Regions from separate parts of the Homo sapiens genome. Here all the other regions are linked to region 2. The links are contacts of gene promoters, found by promoter capture Hi-C in blood cells and fetal thymus (Javierre and others, 2016). All regions are on one chromosome and are shown on one strand. Each heading gives the region's core, a stretch centred on a gene start or on the middle of the fragment in contact. The rest is flanking DNA. Distances are from core to core; before and after follow the strand shown.

Region 1 (3,225 bases), core at 708-3,207, 3.2 Mb after region 2:
ATATTAAAGCTGATCCTCATCTGCCTGTATCTTGCATGATCTTCTCAATTGGTTCAAAACTCAGGAGACAATGAGAATGTTTTTATGTATTGGACCCTAAAACATTTACCATCTTTGAGTCTCCCTTTGCTTAGCCAGGGTGAAAACTGAACATCCAAAGAAAACAATCTTGCTCAATCAGGGACCTCTTGTCCCAGGCCTACACATATTTTGTGTATAGAAATAGTGTGCTTCAAAAGCCTCACTGTGAGGTCATAAGAAAATTAAAGAGCTTTCAGTAGCTGATTAAAGTTAAAATACCTCCTGTTAAGTGTATATTTAATTAAGTCCTTCCTTTATTAATGATAAGAAGATAAAATGTTCATGTTGTAAATGCTTTCCTTTTAAGCTCTAGGCTTGAAAATCTTGCTTGTTCCCAGGAAACACATTTTGATTTTATTCCCTCCCTTAGTGTATATTCATAGACATGTAAGTTGTAAGTCATCCTATTCCTTTCTTTAGTCTAAGAAAGCCAGACAGCCATAAAAAAGAATGAAATTATGTCCTTTGCAGCAACATGAATGGAGCTGGGTGCTATTATCCTAAGTGAACTAACTCAGAAACAGAAAATCAAATGCTGCATGTTCTCATTTATAAGTGGGAGCTAAACAACGGGTACACATGGGCATAAAAATGGCAATATTAATAATTAAAACCAGGGACTCCAAAAAAGGTGACAGTTGGGGGGTGATGAGATTTGAAAAATTACCTGTCAGGTACAGTGTTCACTATTTGGGTAATGGGTACACTAGAAGCTCAATCTTTACTAGTATTCAGTATACCCATTTAACAAACATGCATGTGTATCCCTTCAATCTGGAATAAAATTAAATACATTTTAAAAAGAAAGTGAGGATGGCTTTTAATTTTTGCAAACTAGTGCAAACAAAATTATTAAGTAATTTAACTGTTTCTGATAGAATTTCCTTTTCTTTTTTTTTTTTTTCTTTTTTTTTTTGAGATGGAGTCTCACTCTGATGCCCAGGCAGGAGTGCTTTGGCATGGTCTCTGCTCATTGCAACCTCCGCCTCCTTGGTTCAAGTGACTCTCCTGCCTCAGCTTCCCAAGTGTCTGGGATTACAAGCACCTGCCACCATGCCTGGCTAATTTTTGTATTTTTAGTAGAAATGGGGTTTCACCATGTTGGCCAGGCTGGTCTCAAACTTCTGGCTTCAGGTAATCCGCCTGCCTCGGCCTCCCAAAGTGCTGGGATTACAGGCATGAGCCACCGCAGCCAGCCTCTGACAGAATTTCAAGAGCCAAATCTATGGCCATACCACCCTGAAGGCGCCCAATTTCATCTGATCTCCTTAAAGCTAAGCAGGTTTGGGCCTGGTTAGTACTTGGATGGAAGAATTTCAAGAGCCAAAACATAACATGGCTCACTGTTAACTTTTTTGTGAGTTCAAACACATCACATATATATAAAATACCTAATTTTCACATAAATGTAACCATACTTTGTCCTTTTTTTTTTTTTTTTTTTTTTTTTGAGATGAAGCCTCGCCCTGTTACCCAGGCTGGAGTGCAATGGCACAATCTTGGCTCACTGCAACCTCTACCTCCCACGTTCAAGCAATTCTCCTGCCTCAGCCTCCCAAGTAGCTGAGATTACAGGAATGTGCCACCACGCCCAGTTAATTTAGTATTTTTAGTAGAAATGGGGTTTTACCATGTTAGCCAGGCTGGTCTCAAACTCTCGACCTCAGATGATCCGCCCACCTTGGCCTCCCAAAATCCTAGGATTACAGGCATAAGCCACCGCACCAGGCCCAACCATACTTTATTCTGTTTATGTGATATTTACTTGTGGGTTTTTTTGTACATTTCATCCACTGGAATATAAGCAACATAAAGGCAAGAGACTTACCCATCTTATCCAGAAATGTATCCCTAATCTTAGCATTGTGTCTTGCCAATAGAAACTAATTGATAAAAATTTATTACATGAATTAATATATTTTGCACTGATAAAAGTACCAACCATTGGCTGAGGTGGCTCACACCTGTAATGCCTGCACTTTGGTAGGCCAAGGAGGGTGGATCACTTGAGCCCAGGAGTTCGAAACCAGCCTGGCCAACATGGCGAAACCACATTTCTACTAAAAATACAAAAATTAGCCAGGTGTGATGGTGTATGCTTGTAATCTCAGCTATGTGGGAGACTGAAGCAGGAGAATTGCTTGAGCCTGGGAGGCAGAGATTGCAGCGAGCCGAGATTGCGCCACTGCACTCCAGCCTGGGCGACAGAGAGGGACTCTGTTTCAAAAAAAAAAAAGTTCCAATCACAGAGTTGTATAAAGTTTTGATGAATTGAATTACAGTGTGTTATTAAAGGATATAGAGAATAACCCTATGTTTTGAGGTAGAGCTCATTTGGAAAACTTTCTAGCTTGGGATCATTTTTATATAGTGGAATATACTAATGTCAACTTGGTTTTAAAACCTCTGTTATTTCTATCATTATTGACTCTGGTTGTTTGTTTGCTTCATTTTGTCTACTACTTCTTTGTATCTTTTCTCCCTTTGCCTAAATAACCTTTTCTTTTTTTAGAGACAGGGTCTCTCTGTCACCCTGGCTGGAGTGCAGTGATACCATCTTGGCTTACTGCAGCCTCGACCTCCTGGGCTCAAGCGATCCTCCCACTGCAGCCCCTGGAGTAGCTGGGATTACAGGTGTGCACCAATATGCCTGGCTAATTTTTGTATTTTTTGTAGAGATGGGTTTTCGCCATGTTGTCCAGGCTGGTCTTGAACTCCTGAGCTCAGGCAATCCACCCATCTCGGCCTCCCAGAGTGCTGGGATTACAGGCATGAGCCATTGTGCCCAGCCTAAATAATCTTTTCAAAAACCAGCTTCTGCCAGGCACGGTGGCTCACAATGGAATCTGGAAAAGAAGGCTGGCCCAGTAGTCCCAGAACCTTGGGACACCAAGGCAGGAGGATTGCTTGAGGTCATGAGTTCAAGACCAGCCTGGGAAATATATCGAGATGCCCTGTCTCTACTAAAAATACAAAAAATGTGCTGGGCATGGTGGTGTGCGCCTGTAGTCCCAGCTACTCAGGAGGCTGAGGCGGAAGAATCACCTGAACCTGGGAGGCAGAGGTTGCAGTGAGCTGAGATTGCACCACTGCATTCCAGCCTGGGCAACAGAGTGAGACTCCGTCTCCAAAAAAAAAAAAAAA
Region 2 (3,476 bases), core at 840-3,339:
GAAGATTCACTACAGTCATATATTTTTACATAATATTTGACTTTTTCATGACAAAGGATTTTTAAATTAGAAAAGCACCATAAAGTTGAATTAACCAAAAAAGAGAGAGAGAAAGTCCAGACCCTTCAGTGACTACCTCTGTCTACATAAGATCAGACTCCTCAGTCTGGTATGTGAGGCCCTGGACAATCAGGTGCTAGTGTACTTTTTTAACTTTATCTGTCACTACTTCCCTTCCTGTGCCCTCCACTCTGGAATTCTTCCTGGGACTGTAGGACTTTAGTTGGGCCAGAAGGGCTGGGTCTGGGATAGGGTTGCTTAGAGAGTGCCGTGATGCCGCAGCCTCAATGCTAACTTTTGTTTTTTTGTTTTTTTTTTTTTTTGAGACGGAGTCTTGCTCTGTCGCCCAGGCTGGAGTGCAGTGGCATGATCTCGGCTCACTGCAAGCTCTGCCTCCTGGGTTCACGCCATTCTCCTGCCTCAGTCTCCTCAGTAGCTGGGACTACAGGCGCCCGCCACCTCGCCCGGCTAATTTTTTGTATTTTTAGTAGAGACGGGGTTTCACCGTGTTAGCCAGGATGGTCTCGATCTCCTGACCCCGTGATCTGCCCGCCTCGGCCTCCCAAAGTGCTGGGATTACAGGCGTGAGCCACCTCGCCCGGCCAATGCTAACTTTTTTTAGGTAACATCTTCTGTAGACTTTTAGACATTATCTCATTGAGTTCTCATAGACTCTGCAAGGTAAGTATTACTCCCATCCAGAACCAGACACCTGATTTGCAGGGTCCAGTGCAAACTAAAAAAAGCGTGGCCCCTTGTTCATACATGTATTAAGAATTTCAAGCCGGGCATGGTGGCTCAGGCCTGTAATCCCAGCACATTGGGAGGCCGAGGTGGGCGGATCACCTGAGCTCAGGAGTTCGAGACCAGACTGGCCAACGTGACGAAACTCTGTCTCTACTAAAAATAGAAAACTTAGCCGGGCGTGGTTGTGCACGCCTGTAGTCCCAGCTACTCCGGGGGCTGAGACAGGAGAATCGCTTGAACCCGGGAGGCGGAGGTTGCGGTGAGCTGAGATCGCCCCACTGCACTCCAGCCTGGGCGACAGAGCAAGACTCCATCTCAAAAGAAAAAAAAAAAAAATCAAAATGACAGCAGAGCATTAAATGAAGTGTAAGGCCATGTGTGACTGTACCAGTGTGAACCTATGAGGCCAGTCCCACCCCTATCTTACATCTAGGGAACAGGTACACAGAGATGAAGTAAATTCCCAAGGTTACTTTGTCAAGAGCTTGGAAAATATAAGAGTCAGAAGTCTAACAGGTTGAATCCCTATTAAACTCTCCCCAACTAAACTACGCCCCTCCCTGTTGAGCTGAATCTAATGAAAGCTTCCTAAATGTATTAACCACACACACGCACAATCTGCTATCAGTCACTTTCAGTAGTTCATCGCTGTAACATCTCAGGAGTTCAATGTTTCAACGTGTTCTGTAGATTACTGTGATAACGCGGCAAGCTGTCGTAAGACTTCTTGCTGCACATTTCTTTTTAAAATATTCTCCAGGAGTCTGATGAAAAATACAGACATACCTATGTTTAATGTCAATGGATGGAACTTATTTTAAAAAGTACTGTAATGGCAGAAGTTGTGACACAAAGTACTGCAGTGATGTTGTAACTCCAACACCTAAATATATTATCAAGCATTCGCGTTTTGTTTTGTTTTTTAAGTGACTACTAGATACTGTGATTCACTTAAGTGAAGCGAACTGAAGCCCGTGGTCAAGGAGAGACACCTGAAGGTGAAGGGACAAAGCGAGCAGGGTAAGAGCTCGAGCCCGACCCCTCTCAAAAAATATAGACCCGGAACGCGCGCCTGCGCAGAACGAATCCTCCCGCGCACAAGCCGGGCGGAAGAGCTGGGGCGGGCAGGGGCGGGAATAAGGTTGCTAGGAGAACGCGATGACGCTACGGGCTCGGCGCTCTTCTCCACCAATGGGCGACGCGTACTTGCAGTGGCGCGCTGTGTGCGTCACGCCGACGACGCGCGAAGGGCACACATCTTAGGACCCGGAGGACGTCCGGCCTCTGTGAGCCGCAACCTTTCCAAGGGAGTGGTTGTGTGATCGCCATCTTAGGGAGTGAGTGTGGCCGGGCCTTCTCCTGTGGCGGGTGTGGGGAGCGGAGCCCAGAGCTCCTGTGGGGCCGCTGCTTTGGCGGTGGGCCCAGCCGGGAGCAGCCTCTTTCGAAGGCCGCCGTGACCTCTTCAAGGGCGTGGAGACGGGAAGGAAAAGGCCCCGGTTGGGGTTCCAGGGCGCCGGTAACGTTAACCGGCGCCTTGCCTGTCCTCTAACCGTCGCTCCCTCCTCCCCTAGAAAGATGTTCTCGTCCGTGGCGCACCTGGCGCGGGCGAACCCCTTCAACACGCCACATCTGCAGCTGGTGCACGATGGTCTCGGGGACCTCCGCAGCAGCTCCCCAGGGCCCACGGGCCAGCCCCGCCGCCCTCGCAACCTGGCAGCCGCCGCCGTGGAAGGTGAGATCAGACCCTGCCCAATACAGTCGTGTGGTCTACTTGTGGGCCGCCCAGCCTTTGAGGCCTGGACCCGGCTTGGAGGACAGGGAAGGACGAGTCCAGCCCGCTGCACCGTAGGACGGCGCCCAGTTGCTTGCCCTGGGGTATCGGCCTTTTCCACCATAGGCGGGTGTCAGATCCTTGGCCTTCCCTCAAGGGCGTGGAAGCGCTGAGGCCCTGTGTCCCTTCGTGACCTCCGTGTGCCCGAGGGAAGAGAGGCCGTGACTAGCTCTTTCTCCGCCGTGAGCTCGCTTGGTCAGCAAACTAAGTACTGGGTAAACTCTCCTCCCGAAACTACTGACCACCCACAGTTCTACTAACTATATTACCTGTCCTTTGATTTGCCCTTAGTTTTCTTAAAAATAGTCCTTTCCTAAGTTTTATATTTGTCGACGCCAGGTCAGTCATTTTTGCACTTAATTGTATATGAGATAACTAGATGTCCTGTTTTCGTGCGACTGGAGGAGGCAGCTTGCAGCCCTACATAGGCAATAGAAAGGAGATAATTGGTGGGCGTCCCTTTGGTGTGATTATCTCTTGGGATTCTTGGTGGTTGGGCCCAGCTTTAACTTAGTTGTGTGTGTTTTAAATCCTAGTGAAGTATGTACATACAGAGAAACCTGAAAACCGAATTGTAGGAGTCCTAAGAATGTTATCTACCTTGTGCCTGTAAAATCGAAAGATTTTTTTCTTTAAATCATTCATGTGCTTCTGTTGTCTTTAGTATGGATAGAGTCCTTATTTACACTATCTGTCGTTCAGTTTAAAAGTTAAAGCTAACATTATTTGTGTATTAAATGTATTTGACTGCAGGAATTTGTGCGTATCCGTTTTTATGTTACAGGAGTTCTTAAGTGGGGATAGTATTGGTTAGTGGCTGGGATAAACTTTGAAGTTG
Region 3 (3,451 bases), core at 678-3,177, 3.1 Mb before region 2:
TGGAGTGCAGTGGTGCAATCTCGGCCCTCTGCAATCTGCCTTGCGGGTTCAAGTGATTCTCCTGCCTCAGCCTCCCGAGTAGCTGGAGCTACAAGCACATGCCACCACACCCGGCTAATTTTTGTATTTTTAGTAGAGACAGGGTTTCACCATGTTGGCCAGGCTGATCTCGAACTCCTGATCTCAAATGGTCCACCTGCCTCGGCCTCCTAAATTGCTAGGATTACAGGTGTGAGCCACCACACCTGGCCGTTTTTTCTTTTTTTTGAGACAAGGTCTCACTCTGTCATCGAGACTGGAGTGCAGTGGTGATGAGATGGGATAGTTCCCTTGACCCCCTTGGTGGGTGGGAAGTGGAGTGACTGGTTTCACTAAGCCCACTGCTGGCCACTCCTCACGGGAGGGAGTGTGCGAGAGAGCGAGTGTGGGAACTGGAGTGAACGAATTCTGGAACCAGCCAGTTGCTCCTTTCTGGTGGGAGCAGGCTCTATGTGGGCCCTGCAGCAGCATCCAAGCATATTACAGCCAATGCTCTGTCCGCTCTGCCTTCCAGGGATGGCCAAGTGCCAACCAGCTCAGTGGAGGGTCAGGGTGGCAGCCCCTATACTCTCAGGGGCTTCCTGGTTCTTGTCTGGCATCCAGGAAGAATCAGGTCACATGAACGGGTTGAAAGGTAATGAATGCAGACAACTTTATTGAGCAGTGGGTGGCTCTCAGCGGAAAGAGAGGCTGGAAAGGGGGTGGGAAGGTGATCTTTACCTGAAGCCCACCCATCTCTGGCTAGGCCCCTCTCGGAAGCTGCACGTCCAAAATTAGCTGCATCTACTCTCTAACACTTAGTTGTTTCTTTGCTTGCCACTCAGCCGCTCGTGTTCCCGACGCTCAGCCGCTTATGTTGCTTTGCCAGCTTAAGTCTTTCATGGGCACAGGATGGGGTGGGGCAGGCCAAAAAAGCAACATTTGGGCAGAAAAATGGGGTCAGCTGTTTTCACTTAGGGCCATGGTTCCAGGCTTAAGGGTGGGGTTTAGCTGGGAGCCCAGCCCTTCTGTGACAGTGTGATCATAATTCATGGCAGCCTTGACTTCCCCTGGGTCAAGCAATCCTCCCACCTTAGCCTCCGAGTAGCTGGGACTACAGGCACATGCCACCACGCCCAGATAATTTTTTAATTCCTTGTAGAGAGGGGGTCTTGCTTGGTAACCCAGGCTGGTCTCTGACTCCTGGCTTCAAGTGATCTTCCTGGAGTGCTGGGATTACAGGTGTGAGAAACCATGCCTAGCCTCTAGTGTCTTTTTTTTAAGGTTGACAATTTACATTTCCAATAGTCACTCACGTAATTTTAAATTTTCTAGTAGCCACATTTTAAAAAGTAAAAAGAAACAGGTAACAATCAATCTTAATGATGTTTTTATTTAACTCTATATAAAAATTATCATTTCAACAATAAATATAACATTATTGAGAAACTTTAGTATTTTTGTATTAAGTTTTTGTAATTCAGTGTGTATTCTAAATTATGGCATAACTCAATTTGGACTAGCAGCATTTTTTTTTTTTTTTTTGAGATGGAGTGTTGCTCTGTCGCCCAGGCTGGAGTGCAGTGGCACCATTTCCGCTCACTGCAAGCTCCATCTCCTGGGTTCACGCCATTCTCCTGCCTCAGCCTCCCGAGTAGCTGGGACTACAGGTGCACACCACCACGCCTGGCTAATTTTTTGTATTTTTAGTAGAGACAGGGTTTCACCTTGTTAGCCGGGATGGTCTCGATCTCCTGACCTCATGATCCGCCTGCCTCGGCCTCCCAAAGTGCTGGGATTACAGGCGTGAGCCACCGCGCCCGGCCTGAACTAGCAGCATTTTAAGTGCTCAGTGGCAACGTGGTAGGTGGCCACCATGCTGTGCAGTACAGGTAGACTCTCATGTCTAGATCCACTTGCTGGATGATCTTATCTGTGTCAAAGTTCCAATTCCCATCTATTAGTTGATGACTCAAATTTTTATATCTGCTCCAACTATTCTTTTGATCTCCAGTTCCTTATAGTTATCCACCTTCTTCACAGCTCCACTTTAATGCCCCAAGACACCTCAGACTCAGCATGTCTCACATCTAACTCATAATCTTCCCTTTCAAATCTGAAATGTTTTTCTATCTCTGTTATTTACATTACATTACCAGTCAATCCAGTTTCACCAGCACACACCGAAGGGGATTCCTTGATATCTTCTTCTCTCTCAAATCCCTTATACAATTCATCACCAAGTCTTGCCCATTTTATCTCCCACATATCTCTTAAATCTATTCATTTTTTTGGTCATACCCATCATCATTCCCTTTCAAGCCACTATAACCTATTGACTGTAATAGCCTCTAAACTGATCTCCCTGCTTTCATTCTGGCCACCCTCAACTCTACTCTGTACACTGCAGCCATGGTGATCTTTTCAAAAATCTAATCATGTTAATTGCAACTCTCATCAGGTTAACTGTCTCCTCACCATTAAAATACTTAAGGGGGCTGGACACAGTGGCTCATGCCTATAATCCCAGCACTTTGGGAGGCTGAGGAGGGCGGATCACCTGAGGCCAGGAGTTTGAGACCAGCCTGGCCAACATGGTGAAACCCCGTCTCTACTAAAAATACAAAAATTAACTGGGTGTGGTGGCGCGTACCTGTAGTCCCAGCTACTCGGGAGGCTGAGGTGGAAGAATTGCTTGAATCCGGGAGGCGGAGGTTGCAGTGAGCCGAGATCATACCACTGCACTCCAGCCTGGGCGACAGAGCAAGACTCCATCTCAGAAAAAAATAAAAAATAAAAATAAAATACTTAAGGGAGGTAGGTGGATCACCTGAAGTCAGGAGTTTGAGACCAGCCTGACCAACATGGTGAAACCCTGTCTCTACCAAAATATACAAAAATTAGCTGGGTGTGGTGGCATGTGCCTGTAGTCCCAGCTACTTGGGAGACTGAGGTGGGATAATTGCTTGAACCCAGGAGGTAGAGGTTGCAGTGAGCTGACATCACGCCACTGCATTCCAGCCTGAGCAACAGAATGAGACCCTGTCTGAAAAATAAATAAAAAAAGTAAAATAAAATACTTAAGAGTTTTATATTGTTCTTAGGACAAAGTATAAAGCCCTTAGTATGATCTAAAAGGCTCTGTCAGCTCTCCTACCCTTTCCTTCCTGCAAGGCTCTTACCTTTCTAGTCTCATCTCATCACACTCACTCCCTTCTCCACCTCTTTGCATTCCAGCCATTCTGGATGTTTTTTAGTTCTTTAAATGTGTTATACTCCCTACTGTTTTACAGATGAGAAAATCAAGGCTCAAAAATATATGGGCTGTCCAGAGTCACAAAATTATAGCCAAATGACCATTCTAGTATTAGAATCCATGTCTCCTCTTAAATACCTCTTAAATTTTTCTTTACCTTCCCTTTGCCAAGAATAC
Region 4 (3,140 bases), core at 421-2,920, 3.3 Mb after region 2:
ATGAGTTTCCTTTTACATTCTAACATTGTTCAGTCATTCTGATGGTCTAATTTTTTTTTTTTTTTTTTTTTTTTTTTTTGAGACGGAGTTTCCCAGGCTGGAGTGCAGTGGCGCGATCTCGGCTCACTGCAAGCTCCGCCTCCCGGGTTCACGCCATTTTCCTGCCTCAGCCTCCCGAGTAGCTGGGACTACAGGCGCCCGCCACCCCTCCCGGCTAATTTTTTGTATTTTTTTAGTAGAGACGGGGTTTCACCATGTTAGTCAGGATGGTCTCGATCTCCTGACCTTGTGATCCGCCCGCCTCAGCCTCCCAAAGTGCTGGGATTACAGGCGTGAGCCACCGCGCCCGGCCCCTGATGGTCTAATGTTTTTAGCACAGTTGAACACTTTAAATAAGAGCCACAACCATAAGGAGGACCTCTCCCCAGTATGGCATTTAGAATCAGCTTCCTTATCAGATACTTTCTCCTTGTAACATTGTTATTCTTCAGCATATTGGATAAATTGGCAAATGGCTCTTATACACATGAAAAGATACTCAACTTTATGAATAGGAATAAATATTCAAATTAAAACTCACTGATGCCAGTTGTGATCTAGTGGGTTAGCAGAAACCCAAATGTTTGATACTAGTACTGGTGAGAATATGGGGAAACAGTCTCTCTCATACATTGCTTACAGGAACGTGAATTGATTTCAGTCTCCATGGTGGGACTTGGGCAATATCTATGGAAATGACAGATACACACACACCCCCCCATCATTTGATGCAACAGCCTTTTTTTTTTTTTTTTTTTTTGAAATTTATCCTATAGGTGTACATGCCCATGTGAAGAATGGCATTTCTGCAGAGTTACTCAGGGCATTGCTTTGAATAACAAAAGATTGGAAACTACAAATGACTATCAGTAGAGAATTGCCTAAATAAATATGGTTTATTTATTAAAGGATACTTCAAGTGAAAGCTCTCTGTACCTAGCAGATTTTTACGTCAATACACTTATATGGAAAAATCTCCAAGATACATTGTTACATGGGAAAAAGCAAGATGCAGAACAACCTATGCTCTCGTTAGTTAAGAAAAAAGAGGAGAAAAATAATATATATTTGCATTAGCTTGCATAAAGAAACTAATGAAAGTGGTTTATCTGTGTGTGATGGAGGGAGGAGTAGGTCAAGGTCAGTGAGACATTGGCAGATGGGGAAAAAGGATAATTATAAGGCATACTTTTTTGTTTTATTTTTTACCCAAATAGGTTTTTTTTTTTTTTTTTGAGATGGAGTTTCACTCTTGTTGCCCAGGCTGGAGTACAATGGCACGATCTCGGCTCACCACAACCTCCGCCTCCCGGGTTCAAGCGATTCTCCTGCCTCAGCCTCCTGATAGCTGGGATTACAGGCACGTGCCACCACACCTGGCTAATTTTTTTGTATTTTTAGTAGAGACGGGGTTTCACCATGTTAGCCAGGGTGGTCTCGATCTCCTGACTTCATGATCCGCCCACCTCGGCCTCCCAAAGTGCTGGGATTACAGGCGTGAGCCACTGCGCCCCGCATGAATGTTTCCTATCAGAAAATTAAATTAAAAACATGAGGCCGGGCGCAGTGGCTCACTCACGCCTGTAATCCCAGCACTTTGGGAGGCCAAAGCAGGCGGATCACGAGGTCAAGAGATCGCAACCATTCTGGCCAACATTGTGAAACCCTATCTCTACTAAAAATACAAAAATTAGCTGGGCATGGTGGCATGTGCCTGTAGTCCCAGCTACTCAGGAGGCTGAGGCAGAAGAATCGCTTGAACCCGGAGGTGGAGGTTGCAGTGGACCGAGATTGTGCCACTGCACTCCAGCCTGGTGATAGAGCGAGACTCTTTCTCAAAAAAAAAAAAAATAAATAAATACAAAATAAAAACATGGGACCAACCACCGTGAGATATAACAAGTTAGAATAGCATAAAGTGATATTTCTTATTCTGAAACCATTAACAAAAGCATATCAAAAGGAAGGACAAATAAAAGCTAATCTCAAAAAATTAGTTTAGATTTGCACTCGGGTGTGGTGCCTTATGCCTGTAATCCCAGCACTTTGGGAGGCTGAAGTGGGCTGATCACTTGAGTCCGGGTGTTTGAGACCAGCCATGGGCAATATGGTGCAACCCTGTCTCTACAATACATACAAAAAATTAGCTGAGCGTGGTAGGATGCACCTACAGTCCCACTTACTCAGGAGCCTGAGTGGGAGGATCACTTGAGCCTGCAGTCTGAGGCTGCAGTGATCACTCCAGCTTGGGTGACAGAGTGATACCCTGTCTCAAAAAAAAAAAAAAAAAAAAAAGATTTGCACACGGCCACACCCACATTCTCAAGCCAAATCATGCTTAACTTGTTATAGTTTCTTATCAAATTATTAACTTTTTCCAGCTGATAGATCACTGTCTTCCATCTTCTTTTTGGCATGTGTCTCCTGCCATGATATCTTGCTCATGATATTCTGTGATCCTTTACTCTTCAGTGTTGCCGATTCTAGATCCTGGCTTTTCTCTTTATTAGCACGTCTCACTTTCCATGTGAATACAGTTTTGTGGGATAGATTGTGGCCTTTGGCCACCCATATTGTCCTACCTCATGACCCCATAATCTCTGCTCAGTAGTTGATGACAGAAAACTGGGTCACCTAGAATCAAGCCACTTTAAAAGGAGGAACAAAATTGCAGAGTAAATGAAGTAAAAGAAGTTTGGTCAGGTCTTTAACTTCAAAAATGATACTAAAAATTAGGAAAATAACGATTTTAACTTGCATTTATGTAACAATCACAAATTTTGGGTTATGACAAGTGTGTGTTAAATCTTCAGATGCTGATCTTTATAGAGAAAATGTTTTTTTTTTTTTTTTTGAGATGGAGTTTCACTTTTGTTGCCCAGGCTGGAGTGCAATGGCGCAATCTTGGCCCACTGCAACCTCCTGCCACCTGGTTCAAGCGATTCTCCCACCTCATCCTCCCGAGTAGCTGTGATTAGAGGCATGTGCCACCACGCCCGGCTAATTTTGTATTTTTAGTAGACACGGGGTTTCTCTATGTTGGTCAGGCTGGTCTTGAACTCCCGCCTTGGCCTCCCAAAGTGCTGGGATAACAGGCGTGA
Region 5 (3,591 bases), core at 707-3,206, 3.4 Mb before region 2:
ATTCATTCTTCTATTAATGGTCATTGAGTAGTTCCCAGGTTTAAACTAGTGCTACTGTGAACCTTTTTGTATGTGTTTGGTTAAACATATTTCTGGTGGATATATATGTAGGAATGGAATTGCTGGGTCATAGCAAATACCTAGATATTTCTGTAGATATTGCCAAACTTTATTCCAAAGTGGTTGTACCAGTTTATTCTCCAGCCAGGAATGTATGAGAGGTCCCATTGCCCCACATCCTCATCAACCCTTGCTAATTTTAGTGTTTTTCTTTTTATGATTCTAGGGGCTATGTCCTGGTATCTCCTTGTGGTTTTAATTTGTATTTTCTTGATAAAGATGTTAAGATTTTTAATGTGTTTATTAGCCAATTGTATATCCATTTTGTGAAGCCACGTCAAATTTCTTGCATATTTTTCTATTGGGTTGTTTCTTTTTCTTGCTGATTTGAAGGAATTATTTACATACACTGGATACAAGTCCTTTGTTAGAGATGCAGTTGGCCCTCCTTAGCTGAGAGTTCCACATCTGCAGATTGGACCAACCGTGGCTCACGCCTATAATCCTAGCACTTTGGAAAGCTAAGCCAGGCAGATCACTTGAGGCTAGGAGTTTGAGACCAGCCTGGCCAACATGGCGAAACCCAGTCTCTACTAAAAAATACAAAAACTAGCTGGGCATGGTGGCATGCACCTGTAGTCCCAGCTACTCCAGAGGCTGAGGCATGAGAATCGCTTGAACCCAGGAGGCGGAGGTTGCTCTGGGTGACAGAGTAAGATTCCATCTCAAAAAAAAAAAATAAAGGAAATACTCTGGCCCAGTGAGGTGGCTCATGCCTGTAATCCCAGCACTTTGGGAGGCTAAGGTAGGAATATTGCTTGAAGCCAGGAGTTTAAGACCAGCCTGGTCAACATTAACAAAACCCTGCATATTAAAAAAAAAAAAGAAAAAAATTAACCAGGTGTGGTGATGCATGTCTGTAATGCCAGCTACTCCACAGCCTGAGGCAGAAGATTGCTTGAGCCCAGGAATTTGAGGCTGCAGTGAGCTACAATTCCAGCCTGGGTGACAGAGTGAGACCATATCTCTAAATAAATAAATAAATACTCAAAAATATTCAAAAAATAATACAAATAAAAAAACTATACAGGATAACAACTATTTACATAGTGTTCACATTGTATTAGGTATTACAAATAATCTAGAGATGATTTAAAATATGTGGGAGACTGTGTGTATGTTATATGCAAATACTATGCCATTTTATATAAGGGACTTGAGCATCCATGGACTGGGTATTTGCCCTAGTCCTGTGACCAATTCCCCATGAATAAAGAGACAACTGTATATACCTCATATATCTTACCTTGGGCTATATGTGGCCTCTGCACTCTTTTAATCGTGTCTTTCAATGAACAGAAGCTCCTTATTATAATCCAATTAAACCTTATTCTTTTGTGATTAGTGCTGTTAAAAAAATATTTGCCTACTCTAAGGTCACAAAGATATTTTCTTTAAAAGCTTTATTTGACATTTTCCCATTTAGATCTGTCATCCATCTGGTACTGATTTTTGTATGGTAACAAGTGAAGATCAACATTTTTTTTTCCCCGTATGGATGTCCAGTTGACCTGGCACCATTTACTGAACAGATCATTTTTTCCCCACTGAACTGTAGTGTTGCCTTTGTCATAAATCAGGGAATCTTTTATGTGTAGATCTCTTTCTGGACACTGTCTTCTTTGCCATTGATCATTTTGTCTATTCGTGTGTTAATACCACATTATTTTAATTACTATAATTTAAAAAATAGGTTTTAATATCTGATAGCATAAGACCCTTCAGCTGTATTTTTCTTCAGGATTGCCTTTGGCTATTCTTGGCCCATTATATTTCCATATAAATTTTAGAATCAGCCTGTCAGTTTTTGTAAAAAAATAAAAAATAAAAATAAAAAAACCCTACTGAGACTTTGATTGAAATTGCTTTGAAGCTATAAATTAATCTGGGGAAACTTAACATCTTTACAATCAATATTGAATCTTCCAATCCGTGAACATTTATTGCTTGCCTTCTAAATGAATCAAGCAACTTCTCATCTCGTTCTGTGCTCTAGGACTGATTTTACAAAATGAGAATTATCTGTTTCTTCAGAGTATAGCTAAATTGGCCTTTCCTGGGGAAAAGAGACTGAATGTTGTCTATCAGCTCAATTTCTTTTATGGTTATTGCTCAGGTACAATTTTCTATTTTGATAACTTTTTTATTCTGAAAGGCAGTGTAATATAGTTAAAGATATGGGCTCTGGAGCTGGATAACCTAAGAAATCCTAGGTCAGCTATTTATTAGTTATATTAGTTAATGTGACTTTGAGCAGGTTACTTAACTTGTCTAAGCTTCAGTTTTCTCCATATTAAATAAAAATAACAGTAACTATCTCGTAAGGTAGTTATGAGTACTAAATGATTTAATATAAGTGAATTACTTAGATGAGTACCTGACACATTGTAAACACTCAGTAAATGTTACCTTTTATTAAATTTTTCCAACAAATTGCTTTTTATCTAGGTTTTCAAAATTATTGATATATTCTTAGTAGTCTCTTTAGTTTCATTTATAGCACAAATTAGATCTGATTGTTGTTATGTTTTTCTTTTTGTTTTGCATAGATGTGCTGGAGTTTCAACTTACCAGATAGACTTTTCTTTTTTTTGAGACAGAGTTCCACTCTGTTAGCCTTGTCGCCCAGGCTGGAGTGCAATGGCAGGATCTTGGCTTGCTGCAACCTCTGCCTCCTGGGTTCAAGCAATTCTCCTGCCTCAGCCTCCCGAGTAGCTGGGATTACAGGCACCCATCACCATGCCCAGCTAATTTTTGTATTTCTAGTAGAGATGGGGTTTCACCATGTTGGCCAGGCTGGTCTTGAACTCCTGACCTCGGGTGATCCACCCACCTCGGCCTACCAAAGTGCTGGGATTACAGATGTGAGCCACCGTGCCTGGCCTCAGGTAGACTTTTCAAAAAACTAGTTGGTTTTGTTTGGTCAGTTCTATTGAATTTGTTTGTGGTTTTAAATTTTTTTAAAATTTCTACTTTTATCTATTTCCATTCATCTATTTGTGTTTATTTTGCTATTTTTGTTCTGTTTTTTTTAGCTTCTTGAGTTAAAAACCTAAATGCCCAAAATAACTTGTAAGGCTATAAATTTCCCTGAGTATTGCTTCAGTTGTATCACGAAAGTTTTGAAATGTAGTTTGTCTCATGGTTGTATAAGTTCCATTTTTATTTCTTATTTAATACCCAAGTATATAGTTGAGGGATTGATGTTATCATTGGTGATTATTTTTCTCCCTGTGTCCCTCAGACCCATAATTCCACCCTGATCATTATGGACTGCATCACTGCATTCCCTTGTCCTCTGGGTTCCATTTAGGTTCGGCCAGTGGGAAGGACCTGCAGATCAGAGGATGGAGGAAAGAGCGCCAGAGAGGTTTGGGTGTTTCTTGTCTGAATTCTTTCCCTCTACGGCTACTATTTGTTAGTGATTGCATTCCTGTACCTAAAGCCACAACTTTTTTTTTTTTTTTGACA
Region 6 (3,124 bases), core at 442-2,941, 3.4 Mb before region 2:
CCTTTTAGGAATTGGGGACTGCCTACAACTACTTTCTGATAAATTGTAAACATGTTGTTATAAATTTGTAAATGTAGGCTAGGCATGGTGGCTGACGCCTATAATTCCAGCACTTTGGGAGGCTAAGGCAGGAGGATGTCTTGAGACCAGGAGTTCGAGACTAGCCTGGGCAACAAGGTGAAACCCCATCTCTACAAAAAATACAAAAATTAGATGGGTGTGGTGGCACATGCCTGTGGTACCAGCTACCTGGGAGGCTGAGATGGGAGGATCACTTAACCCCAGGAGGTCAAGGCTACAGTGAGCAGTGATGGTGCCACTGTACTCCAGCCTGGGCAACACAGCATGACTCTGTCTCAAAAAAAAAAAAAGTAAATGGTAAGCAATGGATTTATGAAACATCTATATTCTAAAGAATAAGACCATATGGGCTACACCCAAGCTTGTCAAAAGTCTGTTTACTAACCAGAATTTGGTTGGTCACATGTGTAGACTCTGTAAAATACATGATTCAGTGAATTAGAGCCCTGACCCAGACTTTCTTCCCTGAAGGTTGAGAAACTAAGACACCCTTGTGATGACCCCAGCAGAAAAATCTTAAACAGAGTTCATTTTCACTTTTTCTTATCATTTTAGAACCCCAGTCAGTGTACTGGATTTTGAATTAAGTATTCTAAGGCACAGGTCTGTATTTTCAACAGCGAGATTACCAAACAGGACCCTTTGAGCTCACCTGAAATGTATGCCTCACTGTTCATTTATTTGATCTCAGGGTGTCAAGGTGTCCTCCTCAGGAAGACTTGAATTTCTTTTCTCCTCTATTCAATGTTGTTTACAAGAGGAACAACCTCCCAGGCAATACTGTGATTCTGACCCTATGACTCAGGGCTTTTGATTCCTCTGGCACATTTTAGTAGTCTCAAGCCTGTTGCAGGCTCCCTGCTGCAGGCCTAAACAAAAGTCTCCTTGGAAAGCGAAATTCAAAAGCAAAGCTCACCCAGCTTTTACCAGGCTGCCCTACTTGACAGCCTATAACCTGTCCAAAGCCGCCCTGGTTTCCTGTGGCCTCCAGAAAGAACTCTCCTTATGCCACTGGCTGGCTGCGTCCATTAACCCCTTCTCACCAGCTTCCACCCAGTCGAGTAGCAGGCCCTAACAAACTAAGCAGCATAACAGATAAAAAACAAGCTCCAGGATTGGCAGAGATAATGGTAAGCCCTTAGGGTTTAAGCCTGATGGCCAACAGAAAACACACCCCAATGGCCAAACCTCCAATTTCAAGAAAAAATTGTACTCATTCACAAATAAAGTGATTAAAAAAAAAATTTATCTTAGGCAAGGATAGTAGTACATTGTGAAGAAGCCAACCAAACTTATTACACACAAAAAAATATGCAAAAGCATGTTTAAAAAAAAAAAGGATAGTACCAATAAAATGGTTCTGCAGAGAAGAGCAATCCTGAAAACAGACAATTTGAAATATTTATGCCAAGAACCGGTAGTGGTGGCTCATGCCTGTAATCCCAGCACTTTGGGAGGCTGAGATGGGAGGATCACTTGAGCACAGGAATTTGAGACCAGCCTAGGCAATACAGGGAGACCCTATCTCTACAAAAAATAAAAAATAAAAATCAGCTGGGTGTGGTGGTATGCCCCTGTGGTCCCAGCTACTTGGGAGGCTGAAGGTGGGTGGGGATCACTTGAGCCCAGGAGTTACAGGCTGCGGTAAGCCTTGACTATACAACTGTACTCCACCCTGGGAGACAGAGAGGGGACCCTGTCTCCAAAGAAAAAAAAAAAAAAAAAGAAAAAGAAGTACTTATGCCAAGGAAGGAGCTTTTTGCCTAGGTACTAATATTCAGGAAGCAGAAATATGAAAACAGAATGCAGCTGGCTGTGAGAAAAATTAGACAAGGGAGGAAAGTAGCCATTTTTAGGCAAAAGGAGGAAGGGCAGGAAAGACTGACTACGAGTAAAGAGAAATGCTATGAGAATACCTGACAGTTAAAGGAACTTAAAATAATTTACTTTACTTGGTACGCTGACTTGCTCGACAATTTTATTTATTCAATTCACCCAACAATGCTTTTTTTTTTTTTTGGAGCCCCCAAGATATGCTTTGGCTGTGCCCCCACCCAAATTTCACCTTGAATTGTAGTCCCCATAATCCCTACATGTCGTGGGAGGGACCCGGTGGGAGGTAATTTAATCACGGGGGCGGTTTTCCCCCAAGCTGCTGTTCTAGAGATAGTGAGTGGGTTCTCACAAGATCTGATGGTTCTATAATGGGCTTTTCAATCTTTCGGTCTGCACTTCTCCTTGCTGCCCCCATGTAAAGAAGGATGTGTTTGCTTCCTCTTCCGCCATGATTGTAAGTTTCCTGAGGCCTCCCCAGCCATGCTGAACTGTGAGTCAATTAAACATCTTTCCTTTATAAATTACCCAGTCTTGAGTATGTTTTTATTAGTAGCGTGAGAACGGACTAATACACCCCACTATGTGCCAAGTATTTTCTAGAAAAGTCACATTTCAAGACTTGAATTTCAAAGACCTGAAGTTAGTGGACTAAGAACAATCTAAAGATTTCCAAAAGGGTCCATGTGCTTTTTTGTTAAACACAAACAAACATTAGAAATACAATGGAAAAGCTACCTATGCGACTATGGAGAGAAGGAAGCCGCTGCAGTGGTTGCTCTCTTGGCCTATTTTCATTCATTCTCTCTTAGACCCAATCAACATCTACTGATTCTACTAGGCCTCTTGCTTGGCTTTATCCAGGGCAAAGAGATGACTAGAACTCTTCATGGAGCTTAAAACCAAATACAGAACATCAGACATGCCAATAAATAGTTATACATTAAGACAGCCTGAGATGAAAGGATATCACAGCATAACTGGGTGGTCAGAATAGGAAGTAAACACTTCTGACTAGGTAATTGTAGAAGCTTAATGAAGCCAAAGACTGAGGGGGTGGATTATTGAGGATGGGCACGATTTTAATAAGAGAGATGGAGTAGGTATTCCACAGGTAGGAAGTGCACACACAAAAGTGAGAAATAGGCCCAGTGTAGTGACTCATGCCTGTAATCCCAACCCTTTGGGAGGCAAAGGCAGGAGCAGTGCT
Region 7 (3,247 bases), core at 101-2,600, 3.3 Mb before region 2:
TAAAATTGAATCCCCTCAGAAACTGAGGAACAATAAAAAGCATAGCCAGAGGTTGTTTTAAAAAATTACCAGGCTGGGCACAATGGCTCATGTCTATAATCCCGGCACTTTGGGAGGCTGAGGCAGAAGGACCACTTGAGCCCAAGTGTTGGAGACCAGCTGGGGCAACATAGCAAGACCCCATCTCAAAAAAATTATCATATGTCTAGAAAGTTTGTTTTGTCTTCATTTTATTTATTTATTTATTTATTTGAGATAGGGTCTTCCCCTGTCACCCAGGCTGGAATGCAGTGGTGTGATTACAATTCACTGCAGCATTCACTTCCTGGGCCCAAGTGATCCTCCCACCTCTGCCTCCCAAGTACCTGGGACCACGGACATGTGCCACCATGCCCAGCTAATTTTCTTCTTTATTTTTTGTAAAGATTTAAAAATTACCACTCACTATGTTGCCCAGGTTGGTCTCAAACTCCTGACTTCAAGCAGTCCTCCTACCTTGGCCTTACAGATGTGAGCCACCACACCCAGCCATATTGCACATTTCTAAGACAAGTTTTTAACTGTAGGATCTATATTTTTCTAAAACGAAGTTCTTTTTTTTTTTTTTTTTTTTTTTTTGAGACGGAGTCTCACTCTGTCGCCCAGGTTGGAGGGCAGTGACGCAATATTGGTTCACTGCAACCTCCATCTCCCAGGTTCAAGCAATTCTCCTGCCTCAGCTTCCCAAGTAGCTGGGATTACAGGCACAGGCCACCACGCCCAGCCAAGTTTTGTATTTTTAGTAGAGATGGGGTTTTACCTTGTTGGCCAGGCTGGTCTTAAACTCCTGACCTCAAGTGATCCGCCTACCTTGGCCTAAACTGCTGAGATTACAGGCATGAGCCACCATGCCCGACCAATTTTTTTCCTAATTTGGGGAGAGCTAAATTTTAGAAAACTTGTTGTATTGTTTAGCTCATTGTCAGGGAATGTATGTTTAGAATTGCTCCCAAAATTCTGTTCAAGGAATGAAGTATCAATTATTTCCTCTGAAAAGCTGTTTTTCTATGAGTTCTTAATGAAACCATCCTTAGCATTAATTGCTCTCTCTTTTTTAACTTTATTTTTGCATATGCTTGTTAGTAGTTGTTAAGTAGTCTGCCCTGATATTCTTACTATGAATATTCATTCTGTCTCTTTTTCTGGTTTCTTTTCCTGTGATTATTCTTAAATTCATTCCATAGAGTTTTAGCAGCAGGCTTCTCGTTGGCTTGATATCTTCTCTGGGGATCTCATCTACTTTCTTGCCACTTATGTCCATTCTCCAGGCTTTGCTGAGTTCCAGGTGCTTGTTAGACATTTTCTTCTACATGTGCCCCACAAAGCTCAGATTCAACTTGTCTAAAATAGGACTTCCTCAGACACCCCCAAAACAAACAAACAAAAAATGTTCCTTTTAATAGTCCCAAATCACTACCCCCTCAGACACCCCCAAAACAAACAAACAAAAAGTGTTCTTTTTAATAGTCCCAAATCACCACCCTCTCAGTTACCATACCATTTCCAATCGCGCTGACATAGCCTTGGTCATCAAGTGATACATCAAGTCAGCTTCTGTGTCTCTTAAATCTAACTCTTATTCATGATCTTTTTTGTACTCATTACCTAACTTAAAGGCCTTTATTGTTATTTAGCTGAGTGATTAATTTTCTTTTCTCTTTTTTGAGATGGAGTCTCGCGCTGTCGCCCAGCCTTGAGTGCAGTGGTGCGATCTCAGCTCGCTGCAACCTCCACCTCCCGGGTGCAAGCGATTCTCCTGCCTCAGCCTCCTGAGTAGCTGGGATTATAGGTGCCCACCACCACGCCCGGCTAATTTTTTGTATTTTTAGTAGAGACGGGGTTTCACTATGTTGGCCAGGCTGATCTCGAACTCCTGACCTTGTGATCCACCCACCTCGGCCTCCCAAAGTGCTGGGATTACAGGCGGGAGCCACCGCCCCCGGCCTTGAATATCCTTTTAATCATGCTTCTTGTCTACAATCATACCCTGCCAGTTTAGCCCCTGCACTATTGCCAATTATTTTTCTTTATTGTTTCGCTTCCTTGCATAAAAATCTTTGGTAGCTCCTCACACCCTACAGGATAATGTTCATACTATTATGGTGTGTAAGTCTAAGATCCTTTAAAACCTATCTCAGTGTACCTTTTTAACTTCCTTACTAATCCCTTCTTCTCTTGGGTCATAACTGTCCTGGAGTGCGCCACCATCCCCATGACATGTGCTTTAATGGCTCTTTCCTTCATCCTCTTCCCTTGACTGAAGTGATCTTCTCTTTTTTTTTTGAGATGCAGTTTCGCTCTTGTCACCCAGGCTGGAGTGCAATGGCGCGATCTCGGCTCACCACAACCTCTGCCTCCCGGGTTCAAGTGATTCGCCTGCCTCAGCCTCCCGAGTAGCTGGGATTACAGGCATGCACCACTATGCCTGGCTAATTTTGTATTTTTCGTAGAGACGGGGTTTCTCCATGTTGGTCAGGCTGGTCTCAAACCCCTGACCTCAGGTGCTCCGCCCTCCTCGGCCTCCCAAAGTGCTGGGGTTACAGGCATGAGCCACCGTGCCCAACTCGTTCTTCCCTTCTTTGTTAAATTCCTACTCATCCGTTAGGACTGAACTCCAGTGTTAGCTCCTCTCTGACCTCCTCTTTTCCAATACTTTTTCAGACTTTACATTGATTGTAATTCTTTATATTGTCTCTTCTTCTATACTAAGTTCTTGAAAACAATAGTTACATGTATTTATCTTTTTTCCCATGACCCTTTGCAGTACCTGGGATATAGTAATCACTCAATGAATATAAACTGCACTTACTGGCATGCTCAAGGAATGGGCTATTAAGGTAAATTGAATTTTTGGTTGATTCAGTAGTAAAGCTTTTTTATCAATATATGACAGTTTTTCTAAAATGGTCAAAGTATCTTTTTGACTTAGTATTGTGGAATGAAATGGTCTTAATATTTGAGAACTTGTAACCACCCTATGATTTTTCTTTCTGAAATAAATACTATCATCATGTTGACATAGTACATAGTCTCCCCAGGATAAATGGGCTGCTTCAGAATGACTTCTGCCTGCTCTTTAAAAATCGGATTTTCAGGCCTCATTCCAAATGTATTGAATCAGAATCTTTAGTTTGGGGGCCCAAGAATATGTTTCTAACTAAAATCTCCAGGTGATCCTGATATGCAACAAAATTTAGGAACTAATAAG

Evidence for each region. Contacts are between HindIII fragments. The CHiCAGO score rates a contact against its expected background, and 5 or more counts as called.
Region 1: a fragment that was not itself captured here is called in contact with the fragment with the promoter of SLC25A3 in region 2 in 1 of 17 cell types (non-activated CD4 T cells); the score reaches 8.6 in non-activated CD4 T cells.
Region 3: a contact is called between a fragment that was not itself captured here and the fragment with the promoter of SLC25A3 in region 2, in 2 of 17 cell types (activated CD4 T cells and total CD8 T cells). The highest score is 6.1, in activated CD4 T cells.
Region 4: a contact is called between a fragment that was not itself captured here and the fragment with the promoter of SLC25A3 in region 2, in 1 of 17 cell types (M1 macrophages). The highest score is 7.6, in M1 macrophages.
Region 5: a fragment that was not itself captured here is called in contact with the fragment with the promoter of SLC25A3 in region 2 in 10 of 17 cell types (total CD4 T cells, activated CD4 T cells, total CD8 T cells and 7 more); the score reaches 23.9 in total CD4 T cells.
Region 6: a fragment that was not itself captured here is called in contact with the fragment with the promoter of SLC25A3 in region 2 in 2 of 17 cell types (monocytes and non-activated CD4 T cells); the score reaches 8.2 in monocytes.
Region 7: a fragment that was not itself captured here is called in contact with the fragment with the promoter of SLC25A3 in region 2 in 1 of 17 cell types (non-activated CD4 T cells); the score reaches 6.2 in non-activated CD4 T cells.

Annotation. Positions count from the first base shown.
Region 1 is chr12:101,835,515-101,838,739 of GRCh38, forward strand. It overlaps the pseudogene RNA5SP369. Among named protein-coding and RNA genes, the nearest start is that of GNPTAB, 6.2 kb to the left of the region's middle. The HindIII fragment of the contact is 4,973 bases long and covers 1-3,225 here.
Region 2 is chr12:98,591,597-98,595,072 of GRCh38, forward strand. SLC25A3 (solute carrier family 25 member 3) reads left to right here and starts at 2,090. Exons shown (of 8, transcript NM_002635.4): 1 at 2,090-2,144; 2 at 2,379-2,539. The coding sequence starts at 2,383. RefSeq lists enhancers at 1,612-1,831, 1,880-2,504, 2,082-2,181, 2,505-3,129. The HindIII fragment of the contact is 3,126 bases long and covers 1,390-3,476 here.
Region 3 is chr12:95,468,396-95,471,846 of GRCh38, forward strand. No RefSeq gene overlaps it. Among named protein-coding and RNA genes, the nearest start is that of METAP2, 4.0 kb to the right of the region's middle. The HindIII fragment of the contact is 5,545 bases long and covers 1-3,451 here.
Region 4 is chr12:101,882,058-101,885,197 of GRCh38, forward strand. All of the region lies in intron 1 of DRAM1 (DNA damage regulated autophagy modulator 1), which reads left to right. Among named protein-coding and RNA genes, the nearest start is that of DRAM1, 6.0 kb to the left of the region's middle. The HindIII fragment of the contact is 3,451 bases long and covers 1-3,140 here.
Region 5 is chr12:95,220,747-95,224,337 of GRCh38, forward strand. All of the region lies in intron 1 of VEZT (vezatin, adherens junctions transmembrane protein), which reads left to right. Among named protein-coding and RNA genes, the nearest start is that of VEZT, 4.7 kb to the left of the region's middle. The HindIII fragment of the contact is 875 bases long and covers 1,520-2,394 here.
Region 6 is chr12:95,204,910-95,208,033 of GRCh38, forward strand. All of the region lies in intron 2 of FGD6 (FYVE, RhoGEF and PH domain containing 6), which reads right to left. Among named protein-coding and RNA genes, the nearest start is that of FGD6, 11 kb to the right of the region's middle. The HindIII fragment of the contact is 2,503 bases long and covers 441-2,943 here.
Region 7 is chr12:95,253,747-95,256,993 of GRCh38, forward strand. The region is part of intron 2 of VEZT (vezatin, adherens junctions transmembrane protein); the gene reads left to right. Among named protein-coding and RNA genes, the nearest start is that of VEZT, 38 kb to the left of the region's middle. The HindIII fragment of the contact is 3,115 bases long and covers 1-2,908 here.